2 separate regions of the Homo sapiens genome follow, and region 2 is linked to region 1. Evidence: promoter capture Hi-C in human tissues and cell types (Jung and others, 2019). All regions are on one chromosome and are shown on one strand. Each heading gives the region's core, a stretch centred on a gene start or on the middle of the fragment in contact. The rest is flanking DNA. Distances are from core to core; before and after follow the strand shown.

Region 1 (5,926 bases), core at 2,459-4,958:
AATGCCAAATCAATCTTTTGCTTTTCCTTTTTTATTTGGTGGGGTGGGGGTGGGCTGGTGGGGGTGGGACGCTGTGACTCAAATACAAACCATCTTGTTCTTTGGAGAAAGAAAAAGAGCATATTGACGACCTTTTCTGTCTTATTGCCTCTGGCTAAAGTGGAAAACAGCCTTTTGAAACAGGGCTATAAGCAGCCACATCCATAATCTCTATTTTACCTATAACACCAAAATGCACATCTCTGACCTACACCTGAATAAGTAAGAACAACTACCATTCCCATGGTCACCACCGAAAGCCAGTCCTTCTAGAGTCTGAAACTGGCCTCCAGCTGGTCTTCCTGATCCAGGCAACACACAGCCACCAGGCTCCTCTTCCTAAGATGGCACTTGCATTATGTTACTTCCTCCTCAAAATGTAAAGTGCTTCTCCATTGGCTTTTGCATTGAGTCCAGACAGCTTGATATTCAAGGACACCATGATCTGGCTCCAGCCTCATTTTTCACAAATCACAATAGTCATCCTTCACTACTGAGTGCAGTGGCTGGTCTCACCTTGATACTGTTTTTTTTTTTTTTTTGAGACGGAGTCTCACTCTGTCACCCAGGCTGGAGTGCAGTGGCGCAATCTTGGCTCACTGCAAGCTCTGCCCCACCCCCCCTGCGTTCATGCCATTCTCTTGCCTCAGCTTCCTGAGTAGCTGGGACTACAGGTGCCCACCACCACGCCCAGCTAATTTTTTGTATTTTTAGTAGAGATGAAGTTTCACCGTGTTAGCCAGGATGGTCTCGATCTCCTGACCTCATGATCCACCCACCTCAGCCGCCCAAAGTGCTGGGATTACAGGCGTGAGCCACCACGCCCAGCCTACTCTTTCTTTTTCTTTGAGACAGAGTCTCACTCTACTGCCCAGGCTGGAGTGCAGTGGCATGATCATGGCTCACTGCAGCCTTGACCTTCCTGGGCTCAGGTGATCCTCCCAACTCAGCCTCCTGAGTAACTGAGACAACAGGCATGCACCATCATGCCTGGTTAATTTTTGTATTTTTTGTAGAAACAGGGTTTCGCCATGTTGCCCAGGCTGATCTTGAACTCCTGGGCTCGTGATCTGTCTTCCAAAGTGCTACGATTATAGGTGTGAGCCACCTTGCCTGGCTGATACTCTTTCTTAGGCCACCTTGGCATGCCTTATGTCCTTCACAAGTCTACCCACCCTTCAAAGCCTTCCAAAAAGCCTTCTGACTACCCTTGTCCACACCATCTTTACTCATCTCCAGCTTCTATCATAGACAGGGCTATCCTTCTAAACTCTATGGTCATCTGATCTTATGCATATGTTGCCTTCTCAGTTACACTGCACTGTCTAAAGGCAAGGACCAAGTCTTCTTAGATTCCCTTATGTGAGTTCTTGACTGGCCTCTGTGGGATTGAGGAGGAATAAATGAGTCAATTGGTCCCTTCTGTTGCACTGGGACCCCAGAGAGAAGCTCAGTATGATTCTAAGAAGCTGGGACTTCTGCTGGGCGTCCGGTGTTAACATGTACATAGGCCTCCTATCTAGTGTTATCCAGACCCTCTATCTGCTAACCATGATTCTCAGCCTCAACATTAAACCCTTCTAACATGGTTTGAGGACCTGACAATACAGGTGATACAGGAAGGCCTGGGAGTGCCCTGGGGGATTGCTGGGATTCAAGTTGGCTGATTTATGAAGGTGTTGAGCCACATTGTGTGGAGTGAGCATGGAGGCCTCCTCACCCACAAGATGTAACAGCTGGAAGGCGGTGAGCCAGGCCTCTGGGATGGCTGCAGCCTGGGTCAGGGTCAATCCCTCTGGGATAGGCATGAGGAGCCCTTCGGGGACAGTGACGTACTGAGCCTGGCCCCCACCGGGGAGCAGAGCCATGGCTGTGTCCCCGATCTTCCAGTGTCCCTGGCAGCCAGGCCCCAGCTCTGCCACATGTCCAGATGCCTCAAGTCCCAAAATGTTGCTGGCTCCTGGAGGTGGGTCATACTGGCCTTGTCTCTGCAGAGAAAGAAGTGCACTAAGTGGTGAGCATGATCAGAAATCTGTATGTCACTACCCCTGGCCCCCCTTCCAAGATCCCCTCTTTTTTTTTTCAAAAATAAATTTCAGAATGAAGTCAGGTTTTTGTAAGTAAGGAGAAGAAAAAGGAGAGGCCATTAGTTTTATGCAAATAAACTGGAGGTCACATGATCAGTGGATGTTATAACTGGTAGAGTCCTTAGCTATTTACCTCATCTGAACCCCTTGCTTTACAGATGGAGAAACTGAGTCCCAGACGGGAAATAATAGTAGTGGGATTAGGAACCTTGACGATGGTTCCCATGCATCAAGCGCTAGGCTCTGTGCTCACTCACCCCAGTCCTCAGAAGCTGTAGAGCAGAGGGACTTAACCAGGAGTGTGTGGCAGAACCACCTGAGGAGTATTTCAAAGTACACGTGCCTGGGCCCCCATCACGTTTCTTTTGTGCCCCGGGGGATTCTGATGCACATTTCTGAATGACCCCAACCAATGCAGCTGGCCCAGGTCAGTAAATCAGCATCAGACAGAAGAAAATTCTTAAGAGTACTGCCCGCTGTCAGCTCCGGGACTCTCAGAGTGGAAAGAGTTAAGAGGTCTTTGGAGCCACAAAGACCTCAGCTTGAATCCCAGCTCTTCTGATTGCTAGTGTCACGGCCTTGGGCGTACTGCTTAACCTCACTGAACTTCAGTTTCCTTATCTGTAGAATTAAGATGGCGAACAGGGTAGCCTGGGGAGTAAGTGTGCCCACACCCCACAACAATGTTAGTTCCGCCCTCATCTGGAGGCCTGAGTGGCTATGGATTAGCTCGGGGTGGATTCTGCTTTACAAGTACTCCCCCTTGTTTTGCATGAACAAAGAGGGCGCCCTGGGTTTAGGTCTGGGAAGCCCCAGCGCAGCTGCCTGCTGGGTGTGGAGCGGTGCACGCCTTCACGTCTGGTCAATGTCCACTGAGTGCTGTTGAGAGGGAGGCTCTGGAGTCCCGCCCGCCCCGGCGCGGCTGAGCCCTGGGTACCTGCATTAAGTCCGCCCGGTTCAGGGCGCTGGCCGCCACCTTCAGGAGGACTTCACCCTCCCCCGGGCTCGGCTTGGCCACCTCCTTCACGTAGAGGTTTTCCGGTCCTCCCGGCTTGTCAAAGTGCACGGCTAACATATTGTCTGAGGACACAGGGCAGGGCAGGGCAGGACAGGACAGGGCAGGGCAGGGCAGGACAGGACAGGGCAGGGCAGGACAGGACAGGGCAGGGGCCGCTGTATCCTCGCGGAGCAGCCCAGCCTCAGGCTGGCACCGCAGCGCCCCCTGCCGGCCAGCGCCTCGCTGCCCTGGTCTGCCGCGGACCCGGCCTCCGCCCCGAGCTCCTGCCTGGGAAGTCCTCGGCCGCCTCCAGACCGATCCCACCCGGAACACAGATGGGAACGGCGGGAAGTGGGATGGCGGTACAGGGCTGGATGCGGCAGAGCAGGACAACGCCGAAGAGGATCAGGCAAATCACACTCCCTCTGAGTTGGAAGCCCCCAGCCCGACCCGGGTCCCCGGCGCCCGTATGAGTTACTTACTCCTGGCCCGGCTCCCCTCCCATGCACCAGGCGGCGCCGAGTGGTTCTGGCTCCTGCGGGTCCCGGTGACAAAGCCCGAGCCCCAGAGCCCCAGGACTGCCTCTGCCTCCACCGGAATGGACGGCTGGACCTGGGGTAGCCGGAGGGGTGGGGCTAAGCAGAACCACCCTCCCCCTCTTTCCTTTCCTCCTTCCCCCTTTAAAACGCAAAGTTAGAAGCAAGCAAATCAGATTTTCTTGTCCTTTTAGCCTCTGGAAAAGAGTCTTTCTCTCAGCTTGACAGAAAGTGCGATTCTAGCTCTCACTTCAAGGAGAGGAAACTTCCTTCTCTCTAGGGAACGAGACCCAACCTCTTGGCGGGCGGATTGGTCCATTTTCCAGGCATGGCCAGGCTTTTGGCACATTTATGTAACAGGCTGGCATCCCGCCCATCTTGAGCATGGGTGGGCAAGCTGGGTGCTGCTAAGAGAAGAGAAAGGAGCCGTTGGGAGTGGGGGTGGGGAAGGAAGGCAAAACGCAGTCCTGGGATCCTTATCACTCGCCTCCTCCTGACAGTCCTGGGGGAGAGGTTCAGCCCCAGGAGAAGGATGCTGGCGATTGGGTAAAAGCTGTATCCGTAAGCTACATGAAGGTTTCTCAATCTCGGCGCTATTGACATTTTGGACTAGCTAGTTCGTTATTGTAGGAGATCGTCCTGTGCATCGTAGGATGTTTAGCAGCATCCCTGGCCTCCCCCCACTACATATCCGTAGCACTCCTTGTAAATTCCTGTTTTAGTAAGAACCTCCCATCCTTGACATCTGATCACCCTCAATATCTCATCCTCCACCATCCCCCAAGTGATATCCGACCACCCTGGCCTGTCTTCAGTGAGAATCCTGTTAGGTCAGTTTAGATAGAATCCCCCTTACCCCTGATGCCTCTTACCAATTTTCCATCCACTGACCCCCTACACTGCTCCTTGGCTATACATTCCCACTTGTCCGTGATGCATTCAGAGTTGATCCCAACCTGTCTCCTCCACTGCAAGAACTCATTGCAGTGGTCCCTAAACCTGTAGCGATGGTGCTAAATAAAGTCTTCCTTAATGTGCTTTAACAAGTATCATTGAATAATTATTTCTTTAACACAACAGAGCAAAAGCCTATAGAGATGGAAATAATAAAATGATGGGACTTAAGGAAAAATTCAGGAGACCCTGCTATGAGAATAACAGGAATTTTAGGCCGGGCGCGGTGGCTCACGCCTGTAATCCCAGAACTTTGGGAGGCCAAGGCGGGCGGATCACGAGGTCAGGAGATCGAGACCATCCTGGCTAACACGGTGAAACCCCGTCTCTACTAAAAATACAAAAAATTAGCCGGGCGTGGTGGCGGGCGCCTGTAGTCCCAGCTATTCGGGAGGCTGAGGCAGGAGAATGGCGTGAACCCGGGAGGGGGAGCTTGCAGTGAGCCGAGATCGCACCACTGCACTCCAGCCTGGACGACAGAGTGAGACTCCGTCTCAAAAAAAAAAAAAAAAAAGGAATTTTAGAAGGAGGAAGAGGAATGGATGAAGAAGATTCAATAGTTAACCAAATAAAAGAATACAGTTTTCCTAAATTCTACCAGATTATACGGATTGAAAACATTCACTAAAGGATGGATTCATAAGAACAAAAATGCATGCCTATATTTTATAAAATTTCAGGTTCTAACAAGTGTGGAAAGAATAAGTTACTCACAATTGGTTAAAAAAAATGGCTTCCTTCTCTCCCTCCCTCCCTCCTTCCTTCCTTCCCTCCTTCCCCACCCCCTCTTTCTCTCTCTCTCTTTTTTGTAGTGTAGGGGTCTCATTATGTTGCCCAGGCTGGTCTCAAACTCCTGGACTCAAGCAATCCTCCTGCCTCAGCCTCCCAAAGTGCTAGGATTACAAGTATGAGCCACTGTGCCCAGCAAGTTTCTATCTGCAATCTGGAAGCTAGAAGAGAGTAGACTAGCGTCTATTGACTAGAAGAAAAGCACTGTAACTCAATATACCCCATTAAGATATAATTCACTTGTTAGGGCAAAAAACATGTCTGAGGATGTATAAGGATTCAGAGACACATCATCCGGATACACATCTGTCCAAAATCGAGGAAAGGTTTGAACCAAATAAATATCCTAGAACAGAGACAGATGGAAAGGAAATAGTTGTAAATAACAAACTTTGCAAAAATCGACACTAAAACTGATTGGATTAAGAAAATGGAATGGATTAAGATAGATGAGGAATGTGTAATGTAAGTGCTAAATAAGAACTTTTAAGATGCAAGGAGTAACTTTAAAAAAAATCTAATAA
Region 2 (5,926 bases), core at 2,141-4,640, 390 kb after region 1:
AGTGCAACCTTGGAAGTCAACTGTGAAAATGGCAGAGCTGCCTCCACTGATGAGGAACACGTGACTTGGCCTGTTATATCATTAATAACTCAATTTATATTGTGGTTGAGACATAAATTTAGGAGAGTTTTTTTTTTTTTTTTGAGACGGAGTTTCGCTCTTGTTGCCCAGGCTGGAGTGCGATGGTGTGATCTTGGCGCACTGCAACCTCTGCCTCCCAGGTTCAAGGGATTCTCCCGCCTCAGCCTCCCTAGTAGCTGGGTTTACAGGCACGCTCCACCACGCCCAGCTAATTTTGTATTTTTAGTAGTGACGGGGTTTCTCCATGTTGGTCAGGCTGGTCTCAAACTCCAGACCTCAGGTGATCTGCCCGCCTCAGCCTCCCAAATTGCTGGGATTACAGGCATGAGCCACTGCGCCTGGCCAGGAGTTTATTTTTTATAGCATTAGGTACATCTTAATGAAAACATACTCCTAAAATAGATCAGTATACCAAAAAGACACATGTGCTTGTATGTACATTGCCACATTTCATACATAGTAAAGGCATGGGATCAACCTAGGGGCCCATCAATGGTGGGTTGGATAAAAAAAATATATATGGTAGAGATACATGATGGAATACTATGCAGCCATAAAAAAGAATGAGATCATGTCCTTTGCAGCAGCATAGATGGAGCTGGTGGCCATAATCTAAGCAAATTAATGCAAGAACAGAAAACCAAATACTGCATGTTCTCACTTACAAGTGGGAGCTAAACATTGAGCTCCCACAGACATAAACATGGGAGCAATAGACACTGCAGGCTACTAAAGGGGGAGGGGAGGCGGTGGGGCATGGATTGAAAAACTACCCATTGGGTACTATGCTCCTATCTGGGTTCCATATACCCACGTAACAAACCTGTACATGTACCCCCTCGTATCTAAAATAAAAGCTGAAATAAAAAAAATACTCCTACATGAATACCTGCCTAGAGTGATTTTCATTTTACCAGAAGAATTATAGATAAAGTTTCTTCCTTTTTAAACTAAACTACTCCCTTGAAAATCTAGTGGTGTTGGATGTCAAACAATCATCTGCTGACCCAAAGGGGCTCCTGCCAGCTGCATGGGCACCATGAAGGACTCATGTGAGAAGGCCCGCCTTGATCCAGCATGGCGTATGTGACTGAGGGGGTAATTCCATCTATGTCTGGTTTTGTCTTAACCATCCCACTTTGCAAAAACACTTGATGCCACACTCTGCAACTTGGCCTCTAATCGATTATAATAAAGGTGACATTTAACCTCTCTCTGCCACTCTTTTGCATTATTTTTCCATTTGTTCAGAACTCAGGTTGGGAAGATGGTTGTTACTTATTGGGCCCCCACAGAGACCTCAAAAAGTTATCATAATTTTTGGATAAATCAGTAGTCAAGGATTGTATTATAATTGTGTAAATAATTGTCACTGTTGAACCAAGTAGTATATTGTGATTATGTCTTGTTTCTAGTTTGATTTTTTTCTTGAAGTTAATGAATGCCATGTTTTTTGTTCTTAATTTATTTTTAGTTTTGTATGGACCTATACTATTTTTCCAACTACTATAATTGCTCTGTCTAAAATTTTTCAAGCAGTACACTAAGAGCACTAAGCCTAAAGGAAAAGCCAGGCAGGGTGTGGTGGCTCACACCTGTAATCACAGAACATTGGGAGGCTTAGGTGGGAGGATTGTTTGAGCCCAGCCTGGGCAACATAGTGAGTAGTGAGATCCCCATCTCTACAAAAAAATTCTAAAATTAGCTGGATGTGGTGGTGCATGACTATAGTCCCAGCTACTTGGAAGGCTGAAGCAGGAGGATAGCTTGAGCCAAGATGTTCAAGGCTGCAGGGAGCTATGATTATGTCACTGTATTATGTCACTGTACTCCAGCCTGGGCAACAGAGAAAGGCCATGCCAAAAAAAAAAAAAAAAAAGAAGAAGAAGAAAAGAAAAGCCAACAAAACTAAAAAACATTAATTTTAAGAACTTAAGATCATCAAATGATAAGATTAAGAGAGTAAAAAGGAAAACCACATAATGAGAGAAGACATATGTAATATATATATCCCAAGAAGGATTTTTGTCCAGAATATATAAAGAACCCCTACAGATCAATAAGAAAAAGAGACAATACAATCAGAAGGTGGGCAAAAGATTTTGACGGGCACCTCAAAAAAGAGCATTTCAAATGGCCCTTAAACATATGAAAAGATACTCCACTTCATGAGTCATCTGAGGAATCTAAATTAACATCACAATAAGATATTGCACACCTACCAGACTGGTTAAAATAAAGAATTGTCAAGGATGTGGAACAACTGGAATTTGTACGCACTGCTATTAAAAACATAAATCTGGGCCGGGCTCGGTGGCTCATGCCTGGTAATCCCAGCACTTTAGGAGGCTGAGGTGGGCAGATCACAAGGTCATGAGTTCAAGACCAGCCTGGCCAATATGGTGAAACCCCGTCTCTACTAAAAATACAAAAATTAGCTGGGCGTGGTGGCAGATGCTTGTAGTCTCAGCTACTCAGGAGGCTGAGGCAGGAGAATCGCTTGAACCCAGGAGGCCGAGATCGTGCCACTGCACTCCAGCACTTTGGGAGGCTGAGGCGGGTGGATCAGTTGAGGTCAGGAGTTCAAGACCAGCCTGGCCAACATGGCGAAACCCTGTCTCTACTAAAAATACAAAAAAAAAAAAAAAAAAAAGGAAAAAGAAAAATTAGCTGAGTGTGGTAGCTCGCACCTGTAGTCCCACCTACTCAGGCGGTTGAGGCAGGAGAATCGCTTGAACCCAGGAGACAGAGGTTGCAGTGAGCCGAGATCGTGCCACTGCACTCTAGCCTGGGCGACAGAGCGTGACTCTGTCTCAAAAATAATAATAATAATAAAATAAAAATAAATAAATAAAAACACAAACCTGTACAACCACTTTGAATAACTGTTAGTACTACCTATGAATGCTGAACCTATATAACACATACTCTTTGAACTAGCAGTTCCACTCCTTGATATATACCCAGGCTTGATATATATCCAGCAGAAATGAGCGGATATATTCACAAAAAAACATGTATGAGAATGTTCATAGCAGCACTATTAGTAATAGTCAAAAACAGGAAAGAATGTTCATTAACAGTGGAATGGATAAGCAGCACCGTACTCATAAAACAAAATACCACACAGCAAAGAGAAAAAACAAATTACTTGTAGCATCATGGGTGAATCTCATAAAACGTAATGTTGAATGAAAGAAACCAGGCACAAAAGAGCACAAAATATACAATTCAACTTATATAAAGCCCCAAACAAGGCAAAACTTACTGATGGAGATAGAAGTTAGTTTAGCAGTTACCTTTGTTGGGGGAAGTGGGGGCATCAGGGGATGTTCTGGGTTGCTGGTCAGATTTTATTTCTCAATCTGGGTTCTGATTACACATATTATTCACTTTGTGACAATTCTTTGAGCTCGGCACTTATGATCTGTGTATTTTTCTATATGTATTCTAAATTCTATACTATTTTATGCTGTAATCAGAAAAATTTAAATCACCAGATCATGCAGACATATTGAAAAAATATTGAAAACTTCTAGGAAATAAGACCCGTGTAGATAAGCTCCAAGTCCACGAATTCATCTTTATCTGTAGGATTTGGTCTCTGGAATGATAAATATCAATTCTAATGTGTAGACTTCTCAGAGGTGGAAAGGCCCTTATGCAGCATCTTATCTAATCACCTGTTCATCCTCCTTTGAGGGTAAATATCTAAATGGAAATGCCCAGAATGCATATCAATTATTTTTTGTCTTCCTAGAATTCCTTCCTTGGAGGCTGCTGCTGGACATCCAATACGTGGTTTTGACAGGTTTGTCAGTCACAAAACCCTGCTGTCTACTCCCAACATAGAGGTTGATGTTTGATCTTTGTTTGGCCAATAACACTTTTTTCCCCCAGGAATTTAAGTTTCGAGCTGGTTGCTGAAACCAGCTGAAACACTGACACAGAAGGTGATGAAGCTACATTATCTGACAGCAGTGCCATAGAAAGACAGTTACAAGTCCCTGCTGCTACGATCCTTGAAGCTTCTTTGGGTCTGGCCTCTTGAGGCCAAATTATCCAACAAATCTTTTTATTCTCTGACCTGTCCTATATCCTTTCAATAGATTAATTTTTGCATCATAGCAAGGATCTATTCATATTGCGTTCCAGCAAATAATTAATCCAGCATCAGACCGTCAACCTGGAAAGTTTGGAAACCCAGTGCTATTCGTTCATCCAAGAATTATTAGGTTGCAAAGAAGAGACTCATATTGGTCAAACTCATAGAAATTTGATGTATAAACCACAATATTTATGGATTACTTTATTCTAGGAGATATTCTTAGTGTTAGAACAAAAGCAATCACTTTGCAGAGGCCATTCATTTCACATTTAACATTAACTAATATTAACCAAGAACTGCCTGTTAGGTATTATGGTGAGCAAAGAAAAGCCAAACTTGGTGTTTTCAAATTGATTTTTATAACTTTAAAAATCATGTCAGCTGGGCACGGTGGCTCACGCCTGTAATCCCAGCACTTTGGGAAGCCGTGGCGGGTGGATCACGAGTTCAGGAGATCAAGACCACCCTGGCTAACACGGGCACAAAATTTGCCAGTCTTGGGACGCACCTGTAGTCCCAGCTACTCAGGAGGCTGAGGCAGGAGAACCACTTGAACCCAGGAGGCAAAGGTTGCAGTGAGCCAAGATGGCGCCACTGCACTCCAGCCTGGGCGACAGACTGAGACTCTGTCACAAAAAAAAAAAAAAAAAAAAAAAGGCTTGGGCCAGTCAAGGTGGCTCACGCCTGTAATCCCAGCACTTTGGGAGGCCGAGGCAGGCAGGTCATCTGAGGTCAGGAGTTTGAGACCAGCCTGGCTAACATAGTGAAACCCTGTTTCTACTAAAAATACAAAAAATTAGCCGGGCGTGGTGGCACAGGCCTGTAATCCCAGCTACTCGGGAGGCTGAGGCAGGAGAATTGCTTGAACCCAGGAGGCGGAGGTTGCAGTGAGCCGAGATCAAGCCATTGCACTCCAGCCTGGGCAACAAGAGCGAGACTCCATCTCAAAAAAAAAAAAAAAATCATGTCTGGATATGTTATCCTTTCTAACTCTGCTCCTACAGTGCTACTTAACTCATTTTTCTAAATTACCATTCTGTTGGCTTCTGGTCTACAATCTTCACAGTGATGACCCCGTGCCATCTATATATTGTCCAAAATGCTTTCATTCTCTTAATGGCACCCTCCCTGTACCCAGACAAGGCTTTTAGAAAGCTCTTGTACTGCATTCTGGGGCCTTAGGGAGTTGCTGCAGGTGCTGCTTCCCACTTCTCTTTCGAAGCCTGCTCTGCCCCAGCCTCTAAGTCAGCCTGGTTACCTCATAACTAGTTCTGCCTCTCTGATTAGTTTATCTTGCTTCTAGCCACGCCCCAGTTCGCTGTCTCTTGATCTCCCTCCACCCTACACTTTGCAATCCCATGTGTCAATCTTTTGTTACTTCTTTTCCTGCCTCAGCTCCCAGATCCAGCCTGGAATAGCACAGAAGGAGTTACAACACGGACCGTGTCTTGAGAACCCTCCAAATGCCGGGTGCAGTGGCTCACACCTATAATCCCAGCACTTTGGGAGGCCAAGGTGGGAGTATCACCTGAGGTCAGGAGTTCGAGACCAGCCTGACCAATATGATGAAACCCCGTCTCTACTAAAAATACAAAAATTAGCTGGACATGGTGGCATGCGCCTGTAATCCCAGCTACCTGGAAGGCTGAGACAGGAGACTTGCTTGAACCCAGGAAGGGGAGGTTGCAGTGAGCCAAGATCGCACCATTACACTCCAGCCTGGGCAGCAAGAGCGAA

Evidence for each region. The method cuts DNA at HindIII sites, captures the fragments that hold promoters and counts their contacts. A contact is called where the count stands out against the background at its distance.
Region 2: a fragment that was not itself captured here is called in contact with the fragment with the promoter of TP53I3 in region 1 in 1 of the 25 tissues and cell types used here (neural progenitor cells).

What each region holds. Positions count from the first base shown.
Region 1 is chr2:24,081,126-24,087,051 of GRCh38, forward strand. TP53I3 (tumor protein p53 inducible protein 3) reads right to left here and starts at 3,709. Exons shown (of 5, transcript NM_004881.5): 1 at 3,064-3,709; 2 at 1,760-2,027. The coding sequence starts at 3,201. It also overlaps a transcript of FAM228B not described here. RefSeq lists enhancers at 1,421-2,351, 2,947-3,046, 3,197-3,246, 3,994-4,494 and a silencer at 3,257-3,436. The HindIII fragment of the contact is 16,390 bases long and covers 1-5,926 here.
Region 2 is chr2:24,471,957-24,477,882 of GRCh38, forward strand. No RefSeq gene overlaps it. Among named protein-coding and RNA genes, the nearest start is that of NCOA1, 16 kb to the right of the region's middle. The HindIII fragment of the contact is 7,742 bases long and covers 1-5,926 here.